Linked DNA regions of Homo sapiens: region 2 is linked to region 1. Evidence: promoter capture Hi-C in 16 types of primary human blood cells and fetal thymus (Javierre and others, 2016). All regions are on one chromosome and are shown on one strand. Each heading gives the region's core, a stretch centred on a gene start or on the middle of the fragment in contact. The rest is flanking DNA. Distances are from core to core; before and after follow the strand shown.

Region 1 (5,976 bases), core at 1-2,500:
TGGTGGCTCACGCCTGTAGTCCCAGCACTTTGAGAGGTCAAGGCCGGCAGATCACTTGAGGCTAGGAGTTCCAGACCAGCCTGGCCAACATGGCGAAACCCCGTCTCCGTTAAAAATACAAAAATTAGCTGGGCATGGTGGTGTGTGCCTGTAATCCCAGCTACTCGGGAGGCTGAGGCAGGAGAATCACTTGAACCCGGGAGGCAGAGGTTGCAGTGAGCTGAGATCGCGCCACTGCACTCCAGCTTGGGTAACAGAGTGAGACTCCATCTGAAGAAACAAACAAAAAACAAAAAACACTCCTCTGAGCCCCTCTCCCTGCTGTGCAGGGTGGGGTGGGGGGCGGGGGGGTGACATTTCCAGAATTGTTCTGAGGACTGCATGAGGGAGGCGTGATGCAGGGGGGAAACAAGCCTGGCTTCACCTGTCTGTGCCTCAGTTAGTTCATCTGTAAAATGGAATGCTAGTGCTACCCCCGCTCGGCATGTCGTGAGGATAGAATGAGGTCATCCATGTAAAGCTTGGCTCCTTGTAAGACACAGAACAACAGCATTGCTTAGTGGGCTCTGTAAAATGTGGTGGGCAAGCCTCTCTACGTCTCAAACTGGTGGCCCAGAGGCCAAGTCCACCCCTAGAAGTAGAGTTTGTTTTGTTTTGTTTTGAGGGCTTCTGCAATCCCGCCCACTGCCCACTTCCCACATGTATCTCACCCACCTGCCCCAGAAGCCTGAGACTCTGAATCTTGGCTCAAGTCCCAAGTCCCTTGCAGCCCTGGCATTCTGGCCTCAGGCTGGGGGCCAGGTGGGACTGGGTAGGTTTTCATGGGTTCTCAGGAAGAAGGGCGTATCTGATCTGCACGCTGAATGGGCAGGGCCTTGGGCCCCTCCAGCGAGACTGTGCAGAACATGGTTTCTCCGTCAGCTTAACTTTGCTGCCGGGAGGCAGGAAGGCAGTTCCTTAACTAGAGTCTTCCAGCCCCTTTTGCTGTGTCCATGGGTTTTCAGTAATGTTGTCCCCCTTTCTCACTCCCACCTTGCAGGCCACCGGAGCCGCCAGCTGTTTGGAACTGAGCTACTGCAGAAAGGGAAGTGGAGAGTAAGGGCCAGGCCCCGTGGGGGCAGATGGCCGGCAGAAGGCTGAATCTGCGCTGGGCACTGAGTGTGCTTTGTGTGCTGCTAATGGCGGAGACAGTGTCTGGGACTAGGGGCTCGTCTACAGGAGCTCACATTAGCCCCCAGTTTCCAGCTTCAGGTGTGAACCAGACCCCCGTGGTAGACGTGAGTATCCCGGTAGGAACCTGGGGTTGAGTGGGGCTGTGTTCCTCCAATCGATAAATATCTATTGAGCATCTACTATGTGCCAGGCACTGACCGCAGCCTGGGATATACCGGGGAACAATAGAGACAAAATTCACTACTCTCAAGAAGCTGACAGTCTCCTGAACAGACAGATCAAGAAGTAAACTTATACACTTTGGGAGGCCAAGGCAGGAGGATCACTTGAGGCCAGGAGCTGGAGACCAGCCTGGCCATCGTGTCAAAACCCCGTATCTACTAAAAATACAAAAATTAGCTGGGCATGGTGGCAGGTGCCTGTAATCATCAGAACCCTGAGGCAGGAGAATTGCTTGAAACCGTGAGGTGGATGTTGCAGTGAGCCAGGATTGTACCACTGCACTCCAGCCTGGGCGGCGAAGCAAGACTCTGTCTCAACAACAAAAAAAAGAGAAGTAAGCATATACATTTCAGGTGGCGATGTGCTAAGTGCCCCGCACACAATAGCTAAAGTGGTATGGGGGAGGGCGTGAGCTTTTCCAACTATTTCAGATTGGGTGGTCACAGATGGCTTCTGTGAGGGGGTGATATTTGAGGCAAGCCAGCGAATGGAGAGAGGAAACCACCTACATTGACACCCCGGGGAAGAGCATTCTGGGCAAAGGGAACAGCAAGTACAAAGATTCTGGAGCAGGAACAAGCTTAGTGTGTTCCCGTAACAGCAGGGAGGCTAGAATGGATGGAACAGAGCAAGTGAGGGGAAGAATGCTAAGAGAGGAGGATGGAGAGGTAATGGCGGGCAGATTACAAAAGGCCTTACAGGCTGCGGCTAGGAGGTGAGAATTGTTTTGCGATAGTGGGGAGCCAATGGAAGGTTTTAAGCAGAGGGTCCCAAAATCTGTGTTAGTCGGAGTTCTCTAGTGGGACAGAACTAATAGGATAGATGTATATGTAAAGGGGAGTTTTTAAAGGAATATTGACTCACATGATCACAGGTGAGGTCCCGCAATAGGTCATCTGCAAGCTGAAGAGCGAGGAGGTCAGTCTGAGTCCCAAAACCTCAAAAGCAGGGAAGCTGACAGTGCAGCCTTTAGTCTGTGGCTGAAGGTCCAAGAGTCCCAAAGCTGAAGAACTTGGAGTCTGATGTTTGAGGGCAGGAAGCATCCAGCATGGGAGAAAGATGCAGGCCAGAAGACCAAGCCAGTCTAGTCTTTCCACATTCTTCTGCCTGCTTTTATTCTGGCTGTGCTGGTAGCTGATTAGATTGCACCCACCCAGATTGAGGGTGGGTCTGCTTTTCCCAGTCCACTGACTCAATTTTTTTTTTTTTTTTTTTTTTCGAGAACAGTCTCACTCTATACCCAGGCTGGAGTGCAATGGCACGATCTCAGCTCACTGCAACCTCCACCTCCCGGGTTCAAGCGATTCTTATGCACAGCCTCCCGAGTAGTTGGGATTACAGGTGCACACCACCACACCTGGCTAATTTTTTTGTATTTTTAGTAGAAACAGGGTTTCACCATGTTGGCCAGGCTGGTATTGAACTCCCACCCTCTCTCTTTCTCCCAGTGGTGGGAGAAAGAGAGGAGTTGTGGATGGCTCCAGGTTCCTGGCCTGATCAGCTGAGGGTGTGCTGGTGCTGTGATTTGAATGGGGAGCACTGAGGGAGGACCAATGACGACGCTGGAGTTAGAGGCAAGAGGCCTTCCTCCCAGGGCAGGGAGGGCACAGCCTGTTGAGACAGGCTACAGAGAACTTGCATCTTTCCGCTCTGATGTCTGTAAGGGGAGAAGAGGAGGTCACAGCAGATCTGGAGTGAAGGAACAAAAGCAGAGGACTGCTCAAGATGACCCCCTGGAGTGCCCTGTAGCTGCCAGGGACTGGAGTTCTCACCATTTCTTCAGCAGGAATCCCAAACTCAAACTGATGGGCTGAGAGCATTCAATGCCCACAGCAACTTTATGAGGCTGCAAAGTGCCTTCAAGTCCACCCTGTGAAACAGGCAACAGGCAATTAAGCCCATTTTACAGATGGGAAAGTGGTTTGTGGTTACTGTGGTTATAAAATTGAGTACCCCCTCTTGGAGCGTGCTCCTTGGGGGCAGGAAAACTGGGAGATCATACCAGATAATTGTGCCAGATAATCTCTCCAAGTTATTGAGCACTTAGATCAGCCTTGTGCCCACAAGTCCTCCCCCAAACCCCGTGAGGTGGGAGTGATTATCTCTGTGCTATAGATGAAGACTCCAAGGTTCAGGGAGGTGAAGGTGGCCAGGAGGAAAGTGGCAGAGCCAGGATGAGAACCCTTGGCTGCTTCATGCTAAATCCATCCCCTTCCCCTCTAGTCCACCGCCTCACAGGACAGATGGGGCAGCTGCCTTTCTGGAAGTCCCCACCATCCAGGGAGCCTGCAGGCTGGGAAAGGCCCCCCCAGCCCCTTACCTTAGGTCCTTTTCAAGTAGTCATTAATGCAACAAATAGTTATTGAGCACCTACTATGTGCCAGGGCCTGTGCCATGTGCTGAGGGGATAGCAGGAAGCAGAGAGCCTGGTCCCTGCCCCCCTGGAGCTTATACTCTAGTGGGGTCATGGATGAGAAGCAAGTTGACAAATCATTCCACAGGGTGAGGGGGAGGGGGGTGCTGCTTTGCTTAGGCTATCATGGAAGGCCTCTCTGAGGACATGACATTTAGACTGAGACCTGAATGGCTTATGAAGATCCAGGGGAAGTGAGGGAACAGTAGATGCAAAGGCCCTGGGGCAGGAGCAGAATGACAGATTTTGCAAAGTGGCTGGAACAGTGAGCAAGGGAGAAGGAAGGGAGACCAGGCAGGAGAGAACAGGGGCCCTGGGGACCACTGTAGACTTGGCTGTCAGTGGGAGGAAGGTGGGAGCCATGGGAGGCTTTAGAGCACAAGAGGATGTGATCTGATGTAAGTTTTTATAAGAATTCCAAGGTATTGAGTTGGTTACCCTTTCCTGTCCAGCCTGACCTCTGTGTGCACCTCTTTGGGTTTCCTGGGACTGAGTTAGTGACATAGGAAAGAGGGTGGGAAGGACTGGAAGGAAGTGAAGTCACTCCTTCCCTCCCCCAGACGCAGAGCAATCCCACCTTACTCTGTCTCTCTTGAGCAGAGAGCTGGGGAGGGGTCCTGAGGGACCTGGGGGAGGGCTGTGCAGCTCGGGGAGGGCAGAGCGAGACAGACTGCACAGTAATGTGATTTTGGAGGCCAGATTTGGGGGACCCACCTTGCTGACTCACTCTGCCATCAGGGAGATGGGGTGACTCCCTGCATCCTCCCTAGCTGACCCCGAGGACAGGGAGGAGGGAGGGCAGGAAGATAGTGAGAGGACAGGAAATGGAGGCTGCCCCTGCCCAGTTGGGCAGTTTCCTCAGGAGCTTCAGCGAGTAACTTTCAGGCGGAGCTGAGTTTGGAGCCACTTCTCAGTGGTGGGCTGTGTGCTCCTGGGCAAGCCACTTTGCCTCTCTGTGCCTCAGTTTTCTCATCTGTGAAGTGGAAACAATTGTGCCAACCTCCTGGGTCTCTGATGAAGACTGAATGGGTGAGATGATGCCCAGCACGGTGTGCAGCACAACTGTTAGGAGGGCCTACTCTGCCAGGCACTGTGCGAGACTTTAGTGGGAGGGGCAGATATTAAGCAAGTCTATGATCCTGCCTGGGTGCGGTGGCTCACACCTGTAATCCCAGCACTTTGGGAGGCCGAGGCAGGTGGATCACTTCAGGCCAGGATTTCGAGACCAGCCTGGCCAACATAGCAAAACCCCATCTCTACTAAAATACAAAAATTACCTGGGCATGGTGGTGGACGTCTGCAATCCCAGCTACTCGGGAGGCTGAGGTAGGAGAATCTCTTGAACCCATGAGATGGAGGTTGCAGTGAGCTGAGATCATACCACTGCCCTCCTGCCTGGGCGATGGAGTAAGACTCCATCTCAAAAAAGGAAAAAAAAAAAAAAAAGTAACTGGGAGGGCCAGCTAGGCTGGGAGTAGTCAGGGAGGGCTTCCTGCAAGAAGTGTCCTGGGAACCAAGAATTGGGTGGTGAATGTGGATTAAATAGAGGAAAAATAATCGTGGCACCAGGCAGAAGGAACAGCATGTACAAAAGCTGGACCAATGCCAGGAGGGTCTGGGCATTCCAGGACCTGACAGCTGACCAGACGAGCTTTACTGGAGACTGACAAGGGCAGAACACAGGGACCAAAAACAGGCAAAGGAGAGCTCTTCAGCAGCTGGAGGAGGGAGCACATTAGAAAGAGCCCCTCTGGTAAGATTGGGGGTAGGAGGCCAGATGAGAACCTCTGCAGTTGTTCTCCGTGCTGGTGGAGATGGAAGGAAGGGATGAATTCAAGTATTGTTTAAGAGAGAAAAATTTCTGGCCAGGCTTGGTGGCCCACCTGTGTAATCCCAGCACGTTGGAAGGCCGAGGCGGGAGGATCACTTGAGCCCAGGAGTTTGAGACTAGCCTGGCCAACAAGGCGAGACCCCTTCTCAACAAAAAATTTAAAAATTAGCCTCGTGTGATGCGCACCTGTGGTGCCAGCTACTCAGGAGGCTGAGGTAGGAGACTGCTTGAGCCTGAGTGGTTGAGGCTGGAGTGAGCTGTGATCACGCCACTGCACTCCAGCCTGGGTGACATAGACAGAACCTGTCTCTAAATAAATAAATAAATAAATAAATAA
Region 2 (5,976 bases), core at 1,452-3,951, 71 kb before region 1:
GGTTCCTTGAGCTGTAGAGGGTGGCAAGAGAAAGGAGACAGGCAGAAGTAAATTGGAAAAAACAGAAATCAGTCAACTGAGAAGAAAAAAGAAAACTTTTTCTCAAAAAACAAGATCCTGGCCAAGTGGGGCGGCTCTCACCTGTAATCCCAGCACTGTGGGAGCCTAAGGCCGGTGAATAACTTGAGGCCAGGAGTTCAAGACCCGCCTGGCCAACATGGTGAAATCCTGTCTCTACTAAAAATACAAAAACAATAGCCCAGTGTGGTGGTGTGCGCCTGTAATCCCAGCCACTTGGGAGGCTGAGGCAGGAGAACCACTTGAACCCAGGGAGTGGAGGTTGCAGTGAGCTGAGATCATGCCACTGCACTCTAGCCTGGACGACAGAGTAAGACTCCATCTCAAAAAAAAAACAGATCCTAAGAGAGAAAAAAATGCATTAAGGCCCTATGAATAAATAAATAAATAAATACACACACACACACACACACACACACATCTTAGATATTCGCCTTTAATTAAGCTTTTAACCATTGAGCTCTTTAAAAAATCCTTTTAAATCTCATCACCATATTTTAGCTGGGACAAACTGCTAATATTTCAAAAGTAACACAAACATCAAACCAGAAAGGACTTGATTTAGGAACCAAGCCCAGGCCACGGTGGTGAAAAAGGAACAGAATCTTAGCTACTGAACTAGCGTGAGGTGACAGCCATGTAGCCTCTTTCAGTTTGGCTTGGCTAGCAAAAGATGGCCTTGTTATGTAAATAATGCCCCTCAGGTAATCAAAATCCTTGTCTCTCTCTCTCTTTTTTCTTTTGCTGGCTGTTTTTTCTTTTTCCTTTTTTTTTTTTTCCAGCTGTGGGTATTTAGCCAATTCATGAGACCTTGTTCGCCATAATATGAAACTTTCCTTCAGATTTGACCAAGTCAAATGGAGTTGGTCCAGTCCAATGGGGAAAAGACAGAAGCAACAAAACAACAACAGAAACAAAAACAGTTAAGCAAGGGAAACAAACAATCAAGCAATTTATACGATTACTGCACGCTCTAAAAGTAGGGAGAAATTAAGACCAGCTGGTTGTTAACCCTAACTTCTAGTCATGGGGCCCAGGCTGAAGACCGCTCTCTACCATCCTAGAAGCGGGGAAATCTCAAACTTGCCTTCCCTGCCGGACACAAGCGAAACTCCAGAAAGGAGCTGCCTGCTTGCCATCATCATGGAAGCCAGAAAACTCACCTTCCTTGTTGGAAGTGAGTAAAACGCAGAAAAGGAGCTGTTCAGGGAAATCAAGCTTAGATATCAACCAATTGTGGGAGATCAGGAGTTCTCTGGAGGTGGGGAGCTCCCAGGCCTCAGCAAACTGTCCTATTTTGGAGGGCAATCAAGATCGCTCAAGGCCGGCATGGTGGCTCACGCCTGTAATCCCAGCACTCTAGGAGACTGAGGCGGGTGGATCACTTGAGGTCAGGACTTCAAGACCAGCCTGGCTAACATGGTGAAACCCCATCTCTACTAAAAATACAAAAAATTAGCTGAGTGTGGTGGCACATGCCTATACTCCCAGTTATTTGGGGGGTTGAAACAGGAGCATCGCTTGAACCCAGGAGATGGAGGTTGCAGTGAGCCAAGATCATGCCATTGCACTCCAGCCAGGGTGACAGAGCAAGACCCACCAAGCACCAGTAGGAGACTTGTCAAAGGTCAGGGCCACCTCCACCCAGGGTCCCTTTCATGAGTCTCCAATCTGTAAATCAAAAAGAATCAAAAAGATTGAGACAGGACTCAATCCATTTAGAAATTTATTTCGCCAGGGTTAAGAATGCACCTGGGAGACAGGTCTGTGCTTTTCTCCAGAGATGACTTTAGGTGTCAGTATTTAAAGGAGAAAAGCAAGCTGGAGGGGAAAGAAGGAGGCTATGGCCACATTACCAAATCCACAGTTTGTAAGAGAAGAGGGGCAGATAGGGAAGTAGCCAATTATGTATTTGTCTTGATCTCAATAAATCGGCACTTTACATAAGATAAGGTGAACATAGAGTAGCGACCTGTGGAGATATTTAACTTTTTTTTTTCTTTCTGTTGTGAAGGCTGGAGTGCAGTGGCGAGATCTAGTCTCACTGTAACCTCTGCCTCCCAGGTTCAAGCAATTCTTGTGCCTCAGCCTCCTGAGTAGCTAGGATTACAGGCACGTGCCACCACACCCGGCTGATTTTTGTATTTTTAGTAGAGACGGGATTTCACCATGTTGGCCAGGCTGGTTTCGAATTCCTGACCTCAGGTGATCCACCCGCCTCGGCCTCCCAAAATGCGGAGCCAATATTTAACCTTTCATCTGAAGCTATCTGCTTAGGAACTAAAGGAAAGGCAGTTTCTTACATGACTCAGCTTTTAGCTTAATTCTTTTTCTTTTGGCATAGTGAGTTGGGGGTCCCAATTTTTTATTTTCCTTTCACGAAACTGAGGACAGAAAGGGGAAGTGGAAAGAGGGAGGAGGAGTGGGTTGTGGGAAAGGCAGGAGGAAGCTGCCAAAGAAGAAAGCTTGGCCAGATTCCACCTCCCTTCTGACAGCCTCAGTGGCCTCAAGCCAGGGGGGTGGGTCCTGGCAGGAGGGAGGGGGGGGTGTAGCCAGCCCCAGGGCCCCATTGGCTGCCCAGAGGTGCCAGAGGAATAAAGCCCAGGACCAAGTAGCCCCTGGGACCATTCAGAAGACTGTCCACCCGTCCTCAGCCCCCTCTCTTCGTGGGCTATCTACTCAGTTGATCCCTCCCTCGCTGGCTTGGCTCTGACTCCTGCTCAGACCCATCACCTTTGCCGGGTAAGTGGCCCCATCCTCAGTCCCACCTCAGGACTGGAGTGTCCCGGGCTAGCCTGTGGTTTCCCAGGGGAAGAGGGAGACATAGAAAGAGTCTGTCAAGGCTGGGCATGGTGGCTGATGCCTGTAATCCCAACACTTTGGAAGGCTGAGGTGGGAGGGTTGCTTGAGGCCACAAGTTCAAGACTGAGCTGGGCAACAGAGTGAGACCCCCCCCAATCTCTACAAAAAAAATTTTTTTTTTTTAAGACAGAGGTCTCACTCTGTCACCCAGGCTGAAGTGCAATGGCACAATCTGGGCTCACTGCAACCTCCACCTCCTGGGTTCAAGCGATTCTCCTGCCTCAGCCTCCCGAGTAGCTTGGACTACAGGCGTGTGCCACCACGCCCGGCTAATTTTTGTATTTTTAGTAGAGATGGGGTTTCACCATGTTGGCCAGGCTGGTCTCGAACTCCTGACCTAAAAAAAGAATTTAATTAGTATAGTGTGGTGGTGCACACCTGTAGTCCCAGCTACTGGGAAGGCTGAGTTGGGAGGATCGCTGGAGCCCAAGAGGTCGAGTCTGCAGTGAGCAATTATTGCGCCCCTGCACTCCAGCCTGGGTGACACAGCAAGACCTTGTCTCAAATTTTTAAAAAACAGCCATTTGGGCCTAAACACTGAGTTTGTGTCCAGTTCTGTGCCTCAGCTTCCACATCTGTAGAATGGGGATGAGCATAGCGCCTTCCTCCTCAGGTGGTTGTGACGGTGAAAGGATGACCTGCACTTAAGGTGTCCAGCCCAGATTTCATAATAGTTCATATCGACTGAGCACTTACTGTGAACCAAGTGAAAGGGAAGGTGGCTTCCGACTGCCGGAGTGGGCAGACAGCGGCTTCAGGGCTCCCTCCCTCCTCCTCCCCGGGCACAACCTCTTCTGAAGTCTTGCGATCCTTGGGGCAGGGATCCTTGGGGCAGGCTGGATGCAGTTAATGGATGCTCACTTCACGGAAAGCCGCGGCAGAGGGAGCCCTGTCCTTTTACCTGAAGGCATCCCATGGCACCGCCTGGGACAAACGGCGAGAGAGGCGCCCCAAACCCACCTGAAAAGGGTCTTCGTGGCCGGCTCCTCTGACTCCCACCCCGATTGTCCCTGAGGCCAGGCCTTGGTGACCTACACCGGCCTTTAATGTCAAGTCAGTCGGTGTGGTGGCTCACGCCTGTAATCCCAGCACTTTGGGAGGCCAAGGCAGGCAGATGACTTGAGGTCAGGAGTTCGAGACCAGCCTGCCCAATATGGTGAAACCTTGTCTCCACTAAAAATGCAAAAATTATTCGGGCGTGGTGGTGCACGTCTGTGATCCCAGCTACTTGGGAGGCTGAGGCAGGAAAATCGCTTGAACCCAGAAGGCGGAGGTTGCAGTGAGCCGAGATCATGCCGCTGCACTCCAGCCTGGGTGACAGAGGGAGGTTCTCTAAAAATAACTAAATAAAAACCGGGATCCCATTGTTTGGGGATTAACCTCCAGGAGCTGAAAGTTCATGCCGATTTGGGGATGTCCTGTTTTGAAGTTTGCCCCAGTCTCTGATTTTTATTCGAGAGATCCAGCGGAGAGAGGGTGTCTGTTCAAGTTCCCCTCCCAGGCCCCGAATGTCAGTTAATTCAGATAGACAAGGGGTGACCTATTTAGGGGATGCTAAGTCTGGCGGGGCAGTTGGAATCCCCACCCCTCATTCTCCCTCTGACCAAGGGATGTCTGGCTCATTCTGGGAGCGGGGGATGGATGTCCAAGCTAGGAGTGCCCAGGACAGGGGGCTGGACAAGGTGGCATTGGAGATGGGTCTCTGGCTAGCCACCCTTGCCTGGCCTTCTGGGATGGTGGAGGGAGGGGGAACCAGAGAGCCCCTTGGCCATCGTCAGCTGATCTCTTCTGGCCCGGCCCAAGTTGAGGAGAATCAAATCCTCCCTGAGACTCTCAGCAGAAGGCAGGGGAGATGGGAAGGCTGGGTGGGTGGACGTGGCTGTGGCTAGACCCCGGGCCACCCCAGCTGCTTCATCCCCCAGAGCCCATCCAGAAGCAGGAGCCTGAGCCACACCCATGGGTCGCAGAGAGAGCCTGAGCCCTGGAGCCAGCTGCCCGAGTTCAAATCCTGCCTCCCTGCCTCACTCACAGCGTGACTTTGGGCAAATTATGTTAATATTCCCCTTCCTGTTGCTGTGTACCAAACTACCCCAAAATGTGACTTAAAACAACAGCAAGCCAGGTGCTGTGGCTCATGCCTGTAATCCCAGCAGTTTGGGAGGCTGAGGTGGGCAGAACGCTTGAGGCCAGGAGTTGGAGACCAGCCTGGCCAACATAGCAAAACCCCATCTCTACTGGAATGAATGAATGAATGAATGAATGAATGAATGAATAAAATTTAAAAGCTGTGATTAGTCACTGCTATAATAATTATGACAAAATTAATAATTATGAAAGAGCTTTTCCTAACTGAATATTGGGCTTCCCAAAAGTTAGGTTATTTTGTTTTTTTTTAAATAAATATTTATTGAACATCTACTATGAGTCAGGCATTTTGCTGGGTCCTGGGATCGTCCATTTAAGCCAAGATACTTGGAACTGCATGTCAGAAGAGCCAGCTGCCAGGTTGTTTTTGTTTGTTTGTTTGTTTGTTTGAGACAGAGTCTCGATCTGTAGACGAGGCTGGAGTGCAGTGGCGCGATCTCGGCTCACTACAAGCTCCGCCTCCCGGGTTCACGCCATTCTCCTGCCTCAGCCTCCCAAGTAGCTTGTATTTTTAGTAGAGACGGGGTTTCACCATGTTAGCCAGGATGGTCTCGATCTCCTGACCTCGTGATCCGCCCGCTTCGGCCTCCCAAAGTGCTGGGATTACAGGTGTGAGTCACCGCGCCCAGCCCAGGTTTTTTTTAAATGTATGCATTTAAGTAAGTAATAGAGGCACATGGTAAAACATCAAACTGTGCAAAAGGTGGGTGCTATGATCCCGAGGGCCAGCTCTCCTCAGAGGCCCCACCCTGGCCAGCCTGTCATGCATGTTTCCTGAAATGCTCTGTGCACATGGAAACATGTGGAACAAAACAAAAAAAAATTCAAATAAAAAAATTAAAAAAATATATAAAAGAAACATGTGGACTATATGTGTGTGTGGATGGATTG

What was found. Contacts are between HindIII fragments. The CHiCAGO score rates a contact against its expected background, and 5 or more counts as called.
Region 2: a contact is called between the fragment with the promoter of SDS here and a fragment that was not itself captured in region 1, in 1 of 17 cell types (M0 macrophages). The highest score is 5.4, in M0 macrophages.

The regions. Positions count from the first base shown.
Region 1 is chr12:113,328,024-113,333,999 of GRCh38, reverse strand. It overlaps SLC8B1 (solute carrier family 8 member B1), which reads left to right. Exons shown (of 16, transcript NM_001358345.2): 2 at 1,040-1,277. The coding sequence starts at 1,122. Among named protein-coding and RNA genes, the nearest start is that of SLC8B1, 4.1 kb to the left of the region's middle. The HindIII fragment of the contact is 1,455 bases long and covers 523-1,977 here.
Region 2 is chr12:113,400,612-113,406,587 of GRCh38, reverse strand. It overlaps SDS (serine dehydratase), which reads left to right and starts at 2,701. Exons shown (of 8, transcript NM_006843.3): 1 at 2,701-2,820. RefSeq lists enhancers at 4,263-4,762, 4,763-5,264. The HindIII fragment of the contact is 9,232 bases long and covers 2,546-5,976 here.